Linked DNA regions of Homo sapiens: all the other regions are linked to region 3. Evidence: promoter capture Hi-C in human tissues and cell types (Jung and others, 2019). All regions are on one chromosome and are shown on one strand. Each heading gives the region's core, a stretch centred on a gene start or on the middle of the fragment in contact. The rest is flanking DNA. Distances are from core to core; before and after follow the strand shown. Region 1 overlaps LRRC49 (leucine rich repeat containing 49). Region 2 overlaps LRRC49 (leucine rich repeat containing 49). Region 3 holds the start of CT62 (cancer/testis associated 62).

What was found. The method cuts DNA at HindIII sites, captures the fragments that hold promoters and counts their contacts. A contact is called where the count stands out against the background at its distance.
Region 1: a contact is called between a fragment that was not itself captured here and the fragment with the promoter of CT62 in region 3, in 2 of the 25 tissues and cell types used here (bladder and mesenchymal stem cells).
Region 2: a contact is called between a fragment that was not itself captured here and the fragment with the promoter of CT62 in region 3, in 2 of the 25 tissues and cell types used here (lymphoblastoid cells and mesendoderm cells).

Annotation. Positions count from the first base shown.
Region 1 is chr15:70,913,783-70,918,198 of GRCh38, reverse strand. The region is part of intron 6 of LRRC49 (leucine rich repeat containing 49); the gene reads right to left. Among named protein-coding and RNA genes, the nearest start is that of LRRC49, 23 kb to the right of the region's middle. The HindIII fragment of the contact is 3,399 bases long and covers 1,381-4,416 here.
Region 2 is chr15:70,930,123-70,934,741 of GRCh38, reverse strand. All of the region lies in intron 7 of LRRC49 (leucine rich repeat containing 49), which reads right to left. Among named protein-coding and RNA genes, the nearest start is that of LRRC49, 40 kb to the right of the region's middle. The HindIII fragment of the contact is 3,552 bases long and covers 347-3,898 here.
Region 3 is chr15:71,113,317-71,117,430 of GRCh38, reverse strand. CT62 (cancer/testis associated 62) reads left to right here and starts at 1,927. Exons shown (of 4, transcript NR_168260.1): 1 at 1,927-2,507; 2 at 3,668-3,800. THSD4 (thrombospondin type 1 domain containing 4) reads right to left here and starts at 1,960. Exons shown (of 18, transcript NM_024817.3): 1 at 1,733-1,960. RefSeq lists silencers at 1,567-1,656, 1,807-1,946, 1,977-2,036, 1,883-2,060, 2,097-2,146. The HindIII fragment of the contact is 8,632 bases long and covers 1-4,114 here.

The sequences.
Region 1 (4,416 bases), core at 1,831-4,330, 200 kb after region 3:
GCATGGGGTCTGGCCACTGTGCACAGTCAGACATGCTGGCTGCTACAGCAGGGCAGGCAGCTCCAGGTGCTGGCACAGGCACCAGCTCTCTGCGAGGCTATGGCTGGACCAGGAACACTGCAAGCAGCTTCCACAGCTGGCACTGAGAACACAGTGGCACTCGGAAGCTTGGATATGCGAGGAACCGCAGGGTCCCAAAGAGGGAGTCACAGCCCTGGCTTGGGGAGCTCTCAAGTCTAGGTGACCTGAAGGGCCACAGTTTCCTTCTCTTTGCCTGCAACATGGCGAGCAAGGGGCATGTCTCAGCCCTGTTTGTGTTATAGCTCTTTTAGCCTTGCCATTCTGGGGTCCCAAATTCTGTGGGTCCCAGGTTCTTGTCCTGCGACCAGGAAGAATGAGGTATGCAGACAAGTGGAGGGTGAGCAAGACAAAGAGGAGCTTCTTAAGTGATAGAACAGCTCAGAGGAAACCCACAGGGAGCAGCTCCTTTCCACAGCCAGGGTGTTCTGATGAGTGTTCAGCTCCTAGCAGAGAGGGTAGCTCCTCTGTACTAGGAAAGTCATCTTGACAAGTGTTCAGCTATCAGCAGAAAGGGCAGCCCCTCTTTGCAACTGGTCATCCCATCAACTCTGCAGCTCTCAGCAGAGAGGAAGCCCTAGAGTGAGTTGCTCCTCTCTGCAGATGGTCATCCCAATGTCTCTACAGCTGTCAACAGAGAGAGGGCCCTAGAGTACTTTGGTCCTCTCTACAGCTGGTTATCCCAATGTCTGCTCAGCACTGGCTGAGTCCAGGGCTTTTATGGGCTTCAGGGTAGAGGAAGTGAGTGCTGATTGGCCCATGGGCGGCCACAGGCAGGCCCAGAAAAGGTACCACAAGTTCCCACTCCAGTCGGTGGGAGTGGCAGTCTGGCCTGAAGGTAGGGAGTCACCAGGGACCTGCCCCCTTCTGCTCAGGCAACTGTCTGCTTCCTGCTGCTGTTCATGGTGCCCAGGCTATAAGTATGAAGGGGCACCTGCAGGCCAGCACCTAGCTGCCCTCAGCCCCCCTCAGATTCCCTTCTATGCTTGTTGGCACCAAAAGTTCAGAGGGAGCTGAGGTGGCAAGGGACTGGTGTGTAAGCACTGCCCCAAGCATGTGCACACTTGGCCAGGCTGCCACAGCACCCAGGCTCAACCACAACTTTGCTCTGAGATTGGAGCAGGCACCAACAGCAGGGAGAAGCCAGACAGCAGAAACAAACACTTCAGAACCTGTCGGGAGAGTGAGGGTTGGGGGGTACTTTCTGCGTCCCCAAGAGTGCAGAGATGCCTGGGTCCACAGCTGCAGTTTGGGAGGCTGCAGCTGTACCCAGGAGGGCGGGGCTCCTGCCTGCTTCCTGGCCCCAACAGCACAGGGATGCCCAGGTCTGCAGCCGTGACTTGAGTGGCTGCAGCAGCACCCGGGGAGCTCCCGCCCCAACTCGGAAGGGGCAGGGCTCCCACTTGTCCCCAGGTCCACCTGGCTCCATGGAGCCCACAGCCCCAGCCACGCCTCCCTGCTGCAGCTGGCCTGATGGCAGCAGCCACTCCAGATGGCCTGCTGCTGCCGTTAATAATCAGCACTGAGGCCAGGCGCGGTAGCTCACACCTGTAATCCCAGTACTTTGGGAGGCTGAGGTAGGTGGATCACTTGAGGTCAGGAGTTTGAGACCAGCCTGACCAACATGGTGAAACCCTGTCTCTACTAAAAATACAAAAACTAGCCAGGTGTGGTGGCATGGGCCTGTAATCCCAGCTATTCAGGAGGCTAAGGCAAGAGAATCACTTGAACCCAGGAGGCAGAGGTTGCAGTGAGCCAAGATCACGCCACTGCACTCCAGCCTGGGCGACAGAGCGAAACTCCACCTCAAAAATAATAATAATAATAATAAATAATCAGCACTGAACTGCAGCAGAGAAGTTTGAGCTGCACACTAAGGAGAGGGTAAGTAAAAACTAACACTGTGAAGTGATGAGAGCTCAAAGTGATGTTAAGCCCCACTATTATAATAGAGCAAGTGTAGCACAATGGGATGAGTTTCTGCATGACACAAAATAGAAGTCCTCATGGAGGACTTCATAAACCTGATGAACATTAAAATGAATTTCACAATCACTAGAGATTAATTTGCTCATTTGTATTGCCATCACAGTATATTTGAAATTTCTTACTAACACTTCAAAGCAGATGTTAGCTAAAAGAACTTTTCTCAGATGTCTAATCTATATTTCACATTGTTATTTGGACACTCTTATATTCAAGAAACACCATCTAGGTTCCATCCAGTTTCCAGAAAAGAAACATGTTTATTATAAATTCAATAATATATAAAAGTAACCTATGACCACGTTTAAAATGTGTTTTAAGATTTTTGATTTAACTAATGTAAAGATAAAATTATATAAAAGTTGAAAAAGAAACAAGATTATGAGTATTAACAGATGATAAAACTGTGTAATAAGACATGGAGTAAAATATTTTAAAACTAAACAGGTGATAGAATTTAAAATGCAAGAAGCCAGTAAAAAGGAAAATAGATACTGTAGAAAAAGTAATCAGTAATGTCAGCGCAAGCTTAGAAATCCTCCCAAAATGCTAAGGAAAAACAGAGAGGAAGAATAAAAGATAAGATGGAGAGATGGAAGACAAACAATACAGATATAACAAACATAAATGGAAAAGAAGCAGTGTTTAAATATAGAAAACTTTCCTGAGCTCAAGAAATATATAAATATATAGAGTTATGGGGGACAATTGTATGATCTGCACGGTGTGTTTTCTCCCTTCTGCTAATAGTTCTGGACATTTCTTTTAGAAAACTACCCTTCCACATGGTCCTGGTGGGGCTTACAATTAGAATGCCTGCATTTAGTTACCTTCTAGTTAGAAAAGTCTGAAAAGAAACATGGTTAATTCTTGTATATAGACCCATATTTTAAAAATCACTAAGAATATTATCTGGCTTCTTGGTTTGCAACCCAACAGGCCAGAATCATGTACAACATCTGCTATGGAATAAAGTCAATTACTCGTTACAGCCATGGACAAAGTCACAAGCATAAAGCAGATAATAGAAGCTTCAGGCAAAGGGTTGTATAAAGTGACAGCATAGGTCTTGATTGATTGATATACTTCACAGCAAGAAAAAAGATGATGGGAATGTTGGAAAGCCCATTTATGGGTCATACAGATCAGAGAGTGTCCCAATATAGTCTGCAAGGCTTCTTAATACATCTAGGAAAGCTGGATACTCCAGTCTTAACCTTTGTGTATGAGAGTAACCTAGATTGCTCTGCCTGGATAAAGATAACCTTCCTACCTACCAATACAGAAAAGGCAAGTGTTTGCTTTCAGGTAAGCAGCCACAGAAATAGCAGGCTCTCCCTGGAGGAAAAGAGATCACTGAAAGAACAGATTCTTCTTGAAGCACATCTGTGTCTATGTTAAAGCAAAAATTCACTGAGAGAAAAAATTATGGTTAACCAACACAAGCTCTAGGTTAGAAATTCCTACTCAACCTCCTAGATTCCTCTGTATTCACTACTCATATATAATTAATTGCTAAGTCTTGATGTTTCTACTTTTTAAATATTTATCCAATCTGCCCCCTTATCATATCCTTATTGCTACTACTTTAGTTCATGCCACCATCACTTCTCGCCAAGATTATTGTAATTAGTTTCTCCCAACTGTTTTGTCTCCATTTCCCCTCCTTCCATCTCTACTTCCCAATCCATTTCCTGAACACCATCATCATTACTCAGAATGATTTCACATCCATAAACCAATTATGTTTTATTTCACAATGTGCACCAAGCATATTTTTATTACCAATAGAAGTAAATTCAAAAGACAAAAAACATTCACTTAATGTCTTTTAGCTTCTTTACTATAAGATGCTAAATTTTTAGAATTGGACATTAGTTGTTTCATCTAGAATAGTTCCTTCCTGGCTTTTTAGAAACCTAAGGTAACTAAGACTGTATCTTTGCTTTGAAATACTGTGAATTTTTGCTATTTGGATTCATATATTATGAAACAAGACTCAGATTTTCATTTAAAACTTTCTTCTTCCAGTTATAGAACATTTGTACTGCACAAATTACTTCTCAAGGTTCTATAACTGGAAGAACCTTGAGAAGTAATTTGTGCACTACAAATGTTTAATTTTAACACACACAATATCACAAACATATGCTGAAATTATAAAATATATAACACAGGTCAGCTAACAAGGAACAGACATTTTTCATCAACATAATGATTGGTAAATAATGCCTATACATAAGGTACAGATCAAATGATATGGTATTCATTTATCAGGTGCTCTTGAAGATCTTGGGTAGTACTCACAAACTCTTAAAGATATATTAGAATTTGAAAATCATATGTTTATTA
Region 2 (4,619 bases), core at 873-3,372, 180 kb after region 3:
AAATACATCTGTCCCTTTGAGCTCCAGCATGCCATCTTCAGAGATTATAAACACCTTCTAAGACATAACTTTTTTCAATAAAAATAGAAAACTCAAATTCCATCAGGATATAATTTGTGAGAAAAAGTTTTTTAAGTTTATTTGACAAAATTATAATTATTTAATCTCTGTTTATGAGACAAAATTTTACGTCTTTATCAAATTTTAAAAATCATTAAATGTCATTGCCTAGTAGAGTTATCAAAAATATAAAAATATTCACAAGTTGAAACACTAAAATGCAGAATTCAATTCTATATATCCTCATAATCACTTACATAGATACCCTTTCCAGAACTTTAAAAAGCAAATAATTATACACAATCATTTTTCGTTGTTCCAAATTTCATTTCTGTAAGAAAATGTTAACTTTTCTCCAATTTTTTAGCAATTCTGTGATATACTTTTGTAACAAAATTCTAGCATTATAATAGACAAAAAGAAAACACCGTATTTACCGTATCAATTATCTATGCATGCATTATTTACAGAAGAAAGACCTGTTAAAAACTACTAGGGGATGGCTCCTCTAATATAAGAGAGTAAACAAAAGATGGGATATATATAAGATTCAGGGAGTACAATTCATCATCTAGGAGAGGCAAAGAGAAATCCAAGGATGAAATCTGTATAGCAGGGCTAAATGCAAGCAGACTTCATTAGACAGGGGACAGGAGGCTCTAGAAGGGTATCTCCAAGAGGTAAAAATGAAACACAGATCACCTGAAGTCTTTGCCTATACAGAAAGGGATTTTAGGGTTTTGTTGGAGAGTTTGGACATTAATGATAGTTAAACAAGCCCTAAATTGAGACAGCTATTAATCTCAGGGAAAACAAAAGTTTAACATCATGGTCCAAGACTCACTTTGAAAACCTCACCGTGCTTTGTCAACCATCCTAATCTATTCTATCATAAATGTATCCATTTTCATTAAGCCCCTGCATTGAAAGACCCACCCTAAACCAGAACCCCAAGAAATTTCAAACTAAATCTCCTGTCTCTGCCTTCGAAGATACAGCCAAGGCTATGTCAAGGCAGTGTGCTTTTACTTGCCAGTAGTAATTTCTCCTTTGCTTTATCAACTAGTCATTCTGGCGGTACTCTGCAGGAGCCAGCACTCAACAATCTGCTTACCTAAAAATTATTTCGGAATGACAGGGAAAGTGGAAATGGGGGTTAGGGATAATGTAAGAAAGGTAAATTCTCATCTATTTAAGAAAAAGTATTTATTTTACTGTCAAGCATTAAATACCCCTAACATATCCTTTCTGGAGGTAACTATTTCAGCATCAGAGAAACTATAACAAAGAAGCCAGAATGTTAACATACCTAAGATGAGAGGGAAAAAAATGAAATAAAATGTTTACATGTAGGGGAATATTTATAGCTCGTTATTAATTTCCTCATTATCTTAAATTTATTATTTTTAATAAAACATAATACTGAAAATAATATTCAAAACATTTTTTGAAGTAAAATTCAAAACTATTTTATGTATTTGGAAAATATAATCTTTTAAAAAATAGAAAAAATTATTTACCACAAGATTATTTGAGAGGATTATAATTCTTTATTTTCCAAAAAAATACTGATTTGTTTTCTGAGAAAAATGCTTGTCCTACTCTGCTCAGGCACTGTTGTCCATATCCCTAAACTGCATAAAAGAACTAAATGGCCAGGTGTGGTGGCTTGTGCCTGTAATCCCAGCAATTTGGGAGGTGAGGTGGGTGCATCATTTGAGATCAGGAGTTCGAGACCAGCCTGACCAGTGTGGTGAAACCCCATCTCTACTAAAAATACAAAAATTAGCCAGGCACGGAGGCGTGTGCCTATAGTCCCAGCTACTTGGGAGGCTGAGACGGGAGAATTGTTTGAACGAGGGAGGCGGAGGTTGCAGTTAGCCGAGATTGCGCCTCTGTACTCTAGCCTGGACAACAGAGCAAGACTCCATCTCAAAAAAAAAAAAAAAAAAAAAGACAGAGAAAGAAAAAAGAAAAGAAAAGAACTAAATGATTCAGCAATCTGATCACGTGGGGAATATCTATCACTGGAGCTATTTTTAGAGCAGCTTCCTCTAGAGGAATAAGGAAGAAGAAAGGTGAACAGATTTTGACATGCACCAAGGATTCTGACATGCAACAAGTAGGGCAAAGATGTCTATAATAAAATCATAGCTACTCTCATTTTTACTATGTAGGCTTTCATACAAAACAAGTTAGAGTAAAAATATATAGGGGTAATTATTCTAACTTTGAGAGCTGTAAACAGATTCATTCACAAAGCATCAAACAAGCTTGGAAACAAAAAACAATGAAGTATTCCTTTTTAAAAAAAAGACTTATTAAATTAATTCCAAAATAACTACTTGCTTCACCTATCACTTTGTGACACAGACACTTATTATATGAGGACTAATAGCTGCAAGCCATCATATTAAAACTCTAATCATATATATAAATGCCAATGAAAAAAGTCCATTATTTGGCAGTTATCCAAAGGCATTAATGGGTTTATCTGGTTTTTGTACTTGTTTACTACCCATTACACAGCAATAGATATCAGTCAATTCACCAGTCTGATTTTCTTCTACACACTGTTTTAATACCCCAGAGCAAAAACTGAAAGGGAACTTAAAACCAGACCAGTAAGAAGGCACTGATATGCTGACTAATTAGGGAAATGTCCAGTCTTTATAATCTAGGAGAGCTAGATTTAACAGCTTTGAGGAAATCAATAAAAAGCCTCAATTTCATAACCATAGGCTTTCCCTCACTGGAATTTACAGTTCAAACTTACATCACAAACATAATCTAAAAAGACCCCTCATAAAAAATGGTACCTGGCATTCATGACCCTAACACTCCTGGCAAAACTGTCTAGAAGGACACGAATTCAACTCAGGCTTTGCAACATCCTGACTATTCCAAACTATTAAACTATAAAGAAAAAATTACCATGAGTAACAGTCAGTAGAACTTTCAGGCAACAGATGAAGAAATGCCAAAAAATTAAGAAAATATAGTAACTTGATAAAGACTATGGAATATTTATCTTTAAATTTATAAGAGCAATGAAAAAAATTAAAAACAAGAAAAAATAAGGTACATGCATGCCTCGTTTAATTATGCTTTGCAGATATTGTGCTTTTTTTTAAATTTTACAAATTGAAGGTTTGTGGCAATCCTGTATCAACCAAGTCAGTGCCATTTTTCCAACAGCATGTGCTCACTTCGTCTCTAGGTCACATTTTTGTAGTTCTCACAATATTTCAAATTTTATTATTATTATATTTGTTATGATTATCCGTGATCAGTGATCTGTGATATTACTATTGCAATTGTTTTGGGGCATCACAAACTGTGCCCATAGAAGGTTGCAAACTTAATCAACAAATGTGTGTTCTGACTGCTCCACTCACTGGCACTTCCCCCATCTCTCTCCCTCTTCTTGGTCCTACCTTTGCCTCGAGGCACAACAATATTAAAACTAGGCCAATTAATAACCCCTACAATGGTCTCTAAGTGCTCAAGTGAAAAAATGAGTTACAAGTCTCTCACTTAAAATCAAAAGCTAGAAATGGTTAAGCTTAGTGAGAAAGTCATGTTGAAAGCTGAGATAGGCTGAAAACCAGGCCTCTTTCACCAGCTAGCCAAGTTATGAATGCAAAGGAAAAGTTCTTGGAGAAAATCAAAAGTGCTACTCCAGTGGAACACACAATTAATAAATAAAAACAATAGGAAGAAAGTTTGAATGGTCTGGAAAGATCAAACCAGCCACAGTATTCTCTTAAGCCAAAGCCTAATCCAGAACAAGGCCTTAACTCTCAACAATTCTATGAAGGCTGAGAGAGATAAGGAAGCTGCAGAAGAAAAGCTAGAAGCTAGCAGAGGTTGGTTCATGAGGTTTAAGGACAGAAGCCATCTCCAGAACATAAAAGTGCAAGGTGAAGTAGCAGCAAGTGCTGATGTCAAAGCTGCAGCAAGTTACCTAGATAATCCAGCTAAGATAACTGATGAAGGTAGCTACCCTAAACAACAGATTTTCAATATAGAGAAACAGCCTTCTATTGGAAGAAGATACCATCTAGGACTTTTATAGATGGAGAGGAGAAGTCAATAACTAACTTCAAAGCTTCAAAACACATGCTGACTCTCTCGTTAGGAGCTAACAAAGTTGTTGACATTAAGATGAAGCCAATGCTCCTCTGCCATTGTGAAAATCCTATGGCCCTTAAGAATTGTGCTAAATCTACTGTGCCTGTGCTCTATAAACAGAACAACAAAGTTGTATGCTGATGACAGTATATCTGTCTGCAGCATGGTTTACTGAATATTTTAAGCCCACCATTGAGATCTGCTCAGGAAAAAATTTTCCTTTCAAAATATTACTGCTTATTAACAATGCACTTGGTCACCCAAGAGCCCAGATGGAGATGTAGAAGGAGATTAATGTTGTTTTCATGCCTGCTAACACAACATCCATTCTGCAGTCCATGGAGCAAGGAGTAATATCAACTTTCAAGGATTATTATTTAAGATATACATTTCATAAGGCTTTAGCTGCCTTAAATAGTGATTCC
Region 3 (4,114 bases), core at 678-3,177:
GTGGGGGATGGAGAAGACGGCAATACACAGCCTCTGTGTAGGATAACTGATTGCAATCTCCACAAGTTTTTCGAGGCAAAAACAAAAACAAACTCCAAGTCAAAAATCTCCCCACCCCTGATCTTCCTCCCAAACTCTGGGCTGTATTTTTCTTTCGCTAACAGCCAGTAAGAAATATTTCTTTATGGCATAGGAGACTAAAAAGAAGGTAATGCCAAGCTGGTGCCCCGCCCAGTGCTGGGCACAGAGGAGATCACATGAGTTCCACTGGCCAGCCTCCCCACAAGAAACCAACCCAGTTGCTTATTCAGAAGGGGCTCCAGTATCCTGATCACCCAAACTCATTTCCCAGGCCCAGACCTCTGGGAAATCCCTGCTCCAGCCCTGCAGAGATTTATAGGAAAGTCCCAGGACGCCCATCTGCTTGCTTCCTCACATTAATTTCAGGGCTAGGATTTTGTTTTCTAAAGGAATTCAACTATGATGCCAACAAAAATCTATAGGAATTGAAGAGTTCCGTATTTTAAGTCACATTTTTAAAATGTTTGCTTCTTTGTATATTGAGACCCAGTAAGACCCTAGTAAGCCCAGTTACTCCATCACCTCCAACAATATTAATCAAGTAGAAGACACGCGGATTTTAAAAGCTGTGTGATCCTTGAAAAATCTTCAGACTGTCAGGGGTCCTGGGTGCCTCCAACTGTGAAAGGAGGGTTGGACAAGGCGATTCCTTAGATCTCTCTCGGGTATCTATTTCTCTAATTCCAAATTCCAACAGGCATCCAATGATTGCTACCCACGTCCAAGCTTTAGACTCATAGCCCGAAAAGGGCGAAGCGCAGCGTGGTAGAGATCGCAAAGGAGACAGGAAGAGAAGCAAGCATGCACTTTTAGTAAGACGGCAAAGGAGGCTGGGAGGTACGGTGCTGGGTGCGGACTGCTTAAAAAACTTACTAGACCACAAATTCCAGATACTTAGGTGGGCCCGAGAACGCCCTAAAATCCCCTTCCCAAGTGAGGGCTGATGTTATTTCAAATAAAAAGAAAACTTAACTTCCAGATCTGTAGAGCTCCAAGGTGAGCTCGCTGTGCAAAAGCTACTTCTGTAAGTGCGCCAAGGGGCCGCAGGTACTTAGGCTGCACTTGAGGAAGTGTCCAGAGTTGGCGGAAACAACCCATCCACTCGGGCTCCAGGCGCTCGCTGGGTTGCAGCAACTAAACTGAGACAGACAGACACACAGATCCGAGGCCCCAGGCCAGGACTCAAGGAGCGCTGACCGAGACTTGCCCGGCTCTCGGGCCCCAGGCGGGAGGGAGGCGAGGCTGAGGTGGGGGGCGCACGGGCTGGGTGTGCACTCGCCGGTCCCCTCCGACCCGACCCGGGGAGCACGGGGCCCCGACCCGGGGACGACTGAGGTGGATTGTCCCTAGAGTTTAAGACTGTCCCTAGAGTCGAGGGTGGAGGGATGAGCGCCGGCGCCAGCACAGAGCAAGACTCCCAGCAAGGAAGAGAACCAGAGAAGGAGGCGCAGCCGTCCGCACGGACCAGGCGCGCGCTGGCTCCCCGAGCCCGGAGCGGCGCAGCCCGCGGCGCCCCGGACACACCCACTGGGTAGCCCGCGCCAGCCCGCCCCGCCGGCCAGAGAGCGGGAGCCGGAGCCTGGGCAGCGGAAGCCGGGTCGGGGCCGCGCGGGCGGCGCGCAGGGGACGCGGGGCGCGCGGCTCTGCTCACCTGGCGGTCCGCGTCCCGGAGCGACCGGCGGCCGCCTCGCCTCGCCTCGCCCCCGCGTGGTTCCCGGCGCCGGGCAGCCCCGAGCGCCGCCGCATGGACGGCCGCCACCGCCGCCCAGCCGCCCCGCGCCCGCCCTGCACGGGCTCCCGCTGTGCCCCGATTCCGCGTCGGGCTGCGCGGGCGGCCAGCGGTTCAGGCGCGCGCGGAGAGCTCTGGCTCAGAGTTTGCGATCCGAGAGCGGGATCCGCGCTCCCTCGGTCCTTCCTCCCTCCCCTCTTGCGGCCTCCCGCTGTCATCTGGAGCCGCTCCTGCCGCCCCCTGGCGGCGACCGCGGGAAGGGCCGGCCCCCATCCGCACCCCTGACCCCGGAGGTCAACAACGGGATGGTCCCTGGGTCCCAGGGGAAGAGACATCACCCAGTAGGAGGGAGTACGGTCTAGACAGAGGCCACGAGGGCGGGAGGGGGCGAGAGTGGAGAGTGGCCCAGCTGGCCAGGGTCGTCTAAGTGAGAGGAAAAGGGAGAGGGCGGTTGAGACCAGGCCCTGAATTCCGCGTTCATCTTATCCTGAGGTCTGTGGGGACCTGTTGAAGGACTGGGGCAGGGGACGGACGCGGGCATCCTTCCATTTGGAACAGCCATTCCGGCAGCATCAGGATGGGGCGGAGGCAAAGCGGGGAGTGGGCGAGGCAAGTGGTGCTGTAAACCTGTGCGAGAAGGGGGCGGTGACTCTAAGGGCAGGAAGGAGCCCTGGTCACACACACACTCCCACGCAAGGTAGGACGCGCTGGGCTCCTTCTGAGGCCAAGGGGAAAGGACAAGAGCCCTCCAAATTCCAACGGGGGTTAGACAGCATGGGGAGGAGACACACACACCCTGACGGCCAGAGCCGTTCGGGATTCTTTCTTGTCTTATTCAGAGTAATATTTTGTTGGGGAAAAAAAAGCCTGCTGCAAAAAAATAATAATTCTTCTCATTAGTAATGATAAAAATCAAACTTTGATCCCTTCATTTTACGAATTGGGAAATTATTGCCCCCAAAAGGGCATGACCAAAGTGACGCGTTTAGTTAATGGAGGGAAAATTGCTAGGGCCCCGTTTCTTGAGTCCTAATTCAGAGCCAAATTCTTTACATTCGAGCCAAGGTGTTCAGAGCTGGGAAGGCAGGAAATAGAGTGACTGTGAGGAACTGTCTCTTCTTTCCCCAGAGCAGGGAGGGGGTGACAAATATTTGAAGAGGCTGTCCAGATACAGGCGTTTCCCTAAATTTCAGTCAGCCTGTTTGTTTATCGCTGCCTCTAAAGCTTGCCTGCAGGGGTTGTTTTGAAAGTGCAGGTATACCGAGAGGACAATGAAGGAGGTGGCAGAATGCAAGCTCCCTGCCCCAGAGCCAGGCAGCACCAGGGCTGGGTGCAGAGCGCTTCGTGGGAGCAGAAGGGAGCTCCCAGGGAAGATTGTCCTCCAGAAAAAAAAAAAAATTAACAAAAGGGAAAGAGGCTACTCAAGAGATTAGGCCAAAGAAAGAAACACCATTTTGAGCACCGACTACTGGCCCGGAGCCTGGCAGAGCCAGTTCTGATTGATTCAAGAGCTGGTTCCAATGGGATGAAATAATTCCACACTTGATCAAACAGATTTTGATGGGAGGCACCTGGTGTAAATGGGATTAGATTAATTCTGAGTGTCACGAGTCTCATGGGTCCAAATTAAGTCGATCTAACAGCTCTAGTAAATACTGGCCAGTTTAAACCATTTAGAACTGATTTAAAAAAAAAAACCTGCGCAACTTTAGAATGTACTTAATGTCACTGAATTATACACTTAAAAATGGTTAAAATGGAAATTTTTATGTTATGTACATTTTACCATAATTTTAAAAAAGCAAAACTAATAAGATTTGTTCAAACAAGATTGATTTATTCATTCATTCGAGACAGGTATTCAGTGCCGAGTGTGGCCTTGGTGCTAGGATTCAAAGAGGAAAGGAAGAAAACTTTCCATTCTAAAAGAAACTCCACGTGAGGCGAAGAAGATGAAATATAGTCAGAAAACCATACCAGTAGGTGGTAGGTAAATGCAGAAGTATTTAAGAGCTCATACAGGAGTACCTGCCTCAGGACAGGGAATCTGAGATGCTCTGCAGAGCTGGATCTTAAAGAACGGAGTGAGTTCATCACATAATGTCTGGGGCGAACAGGGCTCAGGAGCAAAGGATGTGGTTTTGTTTGTTATTTTTTAATTTTGAAATAATTTTAGACAAGTTTCACAAATAGTACAAAGAATCCCCTTATATCCCCCACCCTCTTCCTCTAATGTTAACATCCGACATAACCAAAGTATGATTATTAGTGAGCAAACTTGATTCGACAGACCTAGGCTGGCTC